Linked DNA regions of Homo sapiens: region 1 is linked to region 2. The links are contacts of gene promoters, found by promoter capture Hi-C in blood cells and fetal thymus (Javierre and others, 2016). All regions are on one chromosome and are shown on one strand. The core of a region is centred on a gene start or on the middle of the fragment in contact, and the rest is flanking DNA. Distances in the headings are between cores, read along the strand shown. Region 1 overlaps KPNA1 (karyopherin subunit alpha 1). Region 2 holds the start of PARP14 (poly(ADP-ribose) polymerase family member 14).

Evidence for each region. Contacts are between HindIII fragments. The CHiCAGO score rates a contact against its expected background, and 5 or more counts as called.
Region 1: a contact is called between a fragment that was not itself captured here and the fragment with the promoter of PARP14 in region 2, in 1 of 17 cell types (activated CD4 T cells). The highest score is 5.9, in activated CD4 T cells.

Annotation. Positions count from the first base shown.
Region 1 is chr3:122,420,439-122,423,222 of GRCh38, forward strand. It overlaps KPNA1 (karyopherin subunit alpha 1), which reads right to left. Exons shown (of 14, transcript NM_002264.4): 14 at 1,464-2,784. The region is part of intron 1 of WDR5B-DT (WDR5B divergent transcript); the gene reads left to right. Among named protein-coding and RNA genes, the nearest start is that of WDR5B-DT, 5.6 kb to the left of the region's middle. The HindIII fragment of the contact is 1,992 bases long and covers 496-2,487 here.
Region 2 is chr3:122,679,412-122,682,111 of GRCh38, forward strand. It overlaps PARP14 (poly(ADP-ribose) polymerase family member 14), which reads left to right and starts at 1,428. Exons shown (of 17, transcript NM_017554.3): 1 at 1,428-1,659. The coding sequence starts at 1,473. RefSeq lists enhancers at 416-535, 939-1,711, 1,136-1,535, 2,077-2,166 and a silencer at 1,776-1,825. The HindIII fragment of the contact is 13,941 bases long and covers 1-2,700 here.

The sequences.
Region 1 (2,784 bases), core at 242-2,741, 260 kb before region 2:
CAGCCTGCGCAGGTCTCTCCCAAACCTGGTACTGTTCTCTCACCACCCATTACGGTCTTTTGCGTTTCTGTTTTCTCCTTACCCATCACTGTATCTTAATAATGCCCAGCCCAAGTGATGGGTAAAGCAGTGATCCTTATTGAGGACTCCCAGCGGACTACATTGGCCTTCTGCAGGTTAAGTGGATATGAATAAGAATGAGTAATTTTACTTTCTGCAAAAAAACACAGAAATGACTGTATATTAATTTAAAATTAGAGAAAACAATGACTCCTTCAAAATGCAAGTGAAATGGGGCAACAATCATTCAAGCTATCTTTAATAAACTTGTAAACCCAGTGATTTTTTTTTTTTTTTTTTTTTTTTTTTTTGAGATGGAGTCTTGCTCTGTCAGCCAGGTTGGAGTGCAGTGGTGCAATCTTGGCTCACTGCAACCTCCACCTCCCGGATTCAAGCGATTCTCCTGCCTCGACTTCTTGAGTAGCTGGGATTGCAAGCTTGTGGTACGATGGCTGGCTAATTTTTTTTTTTTTTTTTTTTTTTTTAGTAGACAGGGTGTCGCCATGTTTGCCAGGCTGGCCTCGAACTCCTGACCTCAAGTGATTTGCCTGCCTTGGCTTCCCAAAGTGCTGGGATTACAGGCATGAGCCACCACGTCTGGACATAAACCCAGTAATTTTGTACGATTTATAAAACAATGTAGTCTGCAGGAACTAAGGCTATGTTTTGCCTCAAATGTTCTTTGTTTTCAGAATAAAATACTTGGTCAGTGGAATCTCTTCAACAAAATAGAAGAGAAGCAGTCATGGAGTGAAGAAATAAATCATCTTTGTTTCTACTCATCTGTCACTTATGCAATACATACAATATGTAAAAAGGAAAAATCCCTGTGTAATAGCCTAAGGCAACCAGCAGCTTCCACGTCGGTTGGATATTAATAAATTTTTTTCTTTACTGTAAAATATACCCATCAGCTTTTTTTTTTTTTTTTTTTTTTGAGATGGAGTCTTGCACTGTCACCCAGGCTGGAGTGCAGTGGCGCAATCTCCACCCACTGCAAGCTCTGCCTCCTGGGTTCACACCATTCTCCTGCCTCAGCCTCCCAAGTAGCTGGGACTACAGGCGCCCGCCACCACACCCGGCTAGTTTTTTGTACTTTTAGTAGAGACGAGGTTTCACCATATTAGCCAGGATGGTCTCGATCTCCTGACCTCGTGATCCACCTGCCTCGGCCTCCCAAAGTGCTGGGATTACAGGCATGAGCCACCGCACCCGGCCACTAGCTTTTCTAAGACACTTTGTTTGTTTTTAAATACCAGACCTCTGCTATGACAATGTTTGATTTTGTAAACTTCAGGTCAAATCATGTCTTCTGAAAAGTAACTGCATATAAAACACGTTGAGACATTTGCTTAAGATGTTGATCCTGGTTTCAAGTAACAGCATAAGGGAATTCCTTTGAATTTTCTTTTATCAAGCACCCTTTACTAACATCACAAAGATGCATGCATATTCCTTCATTTAGTATTTATTGAATGTCTACTATGTGCAAGGCACTCACCCATGGCCTGACAGACCACATTCAAGTACAAAGAATCATTAGAGCCATTCCAAATCTAAGTGTCAGAACACTTTGAAGCAGGATGTAGAGTGGTCAGAATGACTTGAGGTAAAGCAGAAACACTCAACAACCAGTACATTAAAAGGTGATTTTAATTTTTGACATTCCTTGGGATGATATTCCTTTAGGAAGAAGTAGACTGTGTTAAATTCGCATCCATGGCACTGCTTCCTGAGGCAGTAATTCTTCAAAGCCTTTCCTTCCGTGTCAATACTTTCCACATTTGTGCGTTTGAATGGATCCATGTGTTTAGCCATTATTTTACTAAACACAAAATCATTTGCACAAAAAAAAAAAAAAAAAAAACCTATTACCATACTTGTCTGGTCATACAGAATTTTAGCACCACAGAAGAGGAAAGATGTTTGGCCTGAGAGGGCCTACACTCCAGTCTGTGTAACCTAAAAGCAACTTAAGCCTGATTTCGTCATTTTAAGGGTGCTGATGGTAAGCAGGAGTCAGGAAGAATGGTCTAACAAAAAAGGCTGGCCCAGCTGTGGTTGCCAAGTCTAGTTCTGGGAGATCCTGGGCACGGAACTACTGCGTGGCCACTGCTTTCTTCAAGACACAGAATTTGCAGGGCTCTTCCCCGCCCTTGGACAGCCATCTAAGTGTTGTAACCTTGGGGCAAAGTAATTTCTCGTAAGTCTTCACTTTGTCATCTATAATATAGTGACAATTATCAAAGAACATTTGGAAGACTACATGAGAAAAAAGGAAAGCCCTTAGCCAGGTATCTGGTGTACAATAGATGATCAAATAAAGACATGTTACCTTAATTTGACCTACAGGGAAAACACTCTGGGACTTCGTTTACCCTTAGTTGAAAACAGAACGGAACACTTCTTTTCTTTCTTCTTACCCCAAGCTTCCAGATGTATTTTATGTCCAGTAGCAATTTGATATTTTAAATTAGCATATAAATATTTGCTTTATCAGATATTCTGATGTCCTGGTATCCATTGTTATAACCTGTATATAACCTGTAATCCTGAACTGCTGGGATTACAGGCATGAGCCACCACATCCGGCCATAAACCCAGTAATTTTGTATGGCAGATAAAACATTTTATGGAATATTCTTTATGATAGCCAACTTACTGTAGTAGTCACATCTGACCTTTGATAATTTTTTTAAATTAAGTTCTGATGACAGGAAAAGA
Region 2 (2,700 bases), core at 178-2,677:
CTCTGGTTCTCTTCATTCTGAAATTCAGCCCGATCCTGTAACCCCACAACCTACTGCCTGGCTCCTTCTTCCCCTTCACGGTCACATTTCTGCAAAGAGCGTGTTACGCTCTCTGCTTCCACTTCCTTCCCTCCCTTTCAGTCTTCAGTAGCTGCCATCTCCCTCTCCTCCCTCCTCACCAGGAGACTATGCTTGCCGCTCCTCAGCAGTCCAGCAGACACTTCTCTGACCTGAGGTATCGGTAGCACTGGAATGATAATCCCCCCGCCCCCCTCGACTTGCAACACTGCTTTATTTGGGGTCAAGGAAACACACAGCCCCAGCTTCTCTCCCATCACTCGGCCTCCCCTCTTGCAGATGCCACTATTATCCAGCCACTTGCACGGGCCATCCATGGCTGACCATGGAGTCATCCTTGAGCTTCTCCTTCTCTCAAGGCTCACATTCTTCAGCAAGTCCTGCTTTCACTATTAATTGAGAATCCTCGTTTTCTCAGTTCTTCTCTGCCAGCACCCCAGTCTCAGCCACCCTTGTCTCTCACTTAGGACACTATGGTAGCCACTTGGCTGATCTCTCTGCCTCCACTCTAGCCACCACGCAGCAGCCGGAGTGATCCTGTACATGTGAATCACACCGTGGAACCCCACTTCCTAACCCTCCAAGGCTATCCCCTGATATCCTGGGGTTATCAGGTTACATGTCACCGCCCTATAAACCCTCCCTGAGCCGCCACAGCTGGACTAGGAGCCACTCCTCATCTGTTCCAGGAACACAAGTATATTCTTTCCCAGAGCACCTATTGCCCACTGTGTTCACCATAGCTCCGTGAGCTCAGCGAGGGTTCAGTGAGTGAGTGCATGGCGCCTAGTAAATATTCCACAAAAAAAACTGTGAGTGTAATTGTTTCCCCCACATTTCTAGACATGTAGTATTAACAGATCAAGGAACAGAAAGCAAAACAGGGAAAGCAACGTAAAATTCTGATAATCACAATGATTGCTGAAAAAGTCCCCAAATAGGCAGCAAACATTCTAAAGGGGCCACAGTTTGTGAGTCATTTTATTCTTTTGTAAAGGGTCGGCTTGCGGCAAAAATTAAATGATCTTTGCGTTTGGGCAAGGTCTGGTGCCCCAAAGCTGCCGACTTGATCTGCGGTTGGGGCGAGCGGCAGGTAGGGGGCCCGGAGTTAGGAGGGGGTGTGGGAGCCCGTGGAGCACAGGTGAACTGAGGCCGCCTTCCCGGGGCGCCGCTGGCCAGCCCCAAAGGGTTACTTTGGCCTTGGCTGTGGGCCGAATGCGAAGGTGGGGAGGTGGGCGGGGGATGACTCTGCCATTCCTGGGTCCGCTGTGTTAGGCTGAAGGCAAAAGGAAACCAAGGCCTGGGAGTTTTCCAGGAAACGAAAGCGAAAGAGTCAAAGTTAGCGGCCCGGAGTTGGCGCGGCCCCTGCAGTCCGGCGGAGAGCGGAGCTGAGGATGGCTGTGCCCGGCTCCTTCCCGCTGCTGGTCGAGGGCTCCTGGGGCCCCGACCCCCCGAAGAACTTGAACACCAAGTTGCAGATGTACTTCCAGAGCCCGAAGAGGTCGGGAGGCGGCGAGTGTGAGGTCCGCCAGGATCCCAGGAGCCCATCCCGCTTCCTGGTGTTCTTCTACCCGGAGGACGGTGAGGGGCGCGAGGGGTGGGGTGAGGAGGGGGCACCTCTGCCCTCCCTCCAGGGAAATGGCGGCAGGGCACGCACGGGAGGGTGACCCGCCCGACTTCGGCGGCTGCTGTAGCGGAGGTGGCCGGGGCGGGGGCGGGGGCGGGGGCGGCAGAATGGATTCCGAGCGCACCCGGGGCGCTGCGGTTCCCCGGCGCCCTGCGCTTCCAGGCGCTTAATGGCGCGGCCCGGAGGTGGCGGCGGAACCGCGCAAGTAACTCTTTATCCCTCGATCGTTTTCTGTCTTTCCCTGTTGTGGTGGTGTTATTGTTTGTTGTTGTTGTTGTGGAAGTGAGTCTATCCTCTTATCATCCTTTTCTGTCTTTTCCTGTTGTTATTATTCTTGTGTGGGGAAGGAAACTGATTAAGAAACGTGGCAAGTCACAGAGATTCCTTGTGGTTCTTGGAGATTCCCAGGGGTCCCGGGGTCACTTGGGAGAGGGGCAGAGGCGCTACCTAAAATCACACTGCCTGAATGTCAACGTAGAGCCGTCACAGCGGCCACATTGGAGGGGCTGTCGATCGACCACAGGTGCCCATTGTCGAGGGCCTGCCGGGGCCTCTTCTCCGAGTCTCTAGTGGCCCTCAGATTGGGAGCAAGGATGATATTCTGAAGTGATTGTGGGTTGGGAGATTTGAGCTTTGGAGGGAAAGTCGGCAAAGTTCCCTCCTTACAGACCCACCACTACTTGGTGGGCCAAGAGCCCAGAGGTGATCTGCTGGCTCAAGGGCCTCCCTGGTCTGCAATGGGAAGCCAGTGACCTGCAGCTCCCAGAATGGGCACCTTTTCCACTGGCATCTTATGGATGATGACCTATCGGGATCTAGTCAACCCCTAATTCCGCTTTCATGTCGCTAGATTTGGAGAAGCATTCGGGCCAGAGGAGAGGCAAGGAGGCTGAGGCTGAGGCCATGCAATTAGAGTGCCCAAGCAGGGATCCAAAAAGGAAAAATGAAACAGAAAAAGAATGGCGCACAGAAGGAAGGAAGGAGGGGGACAGGAG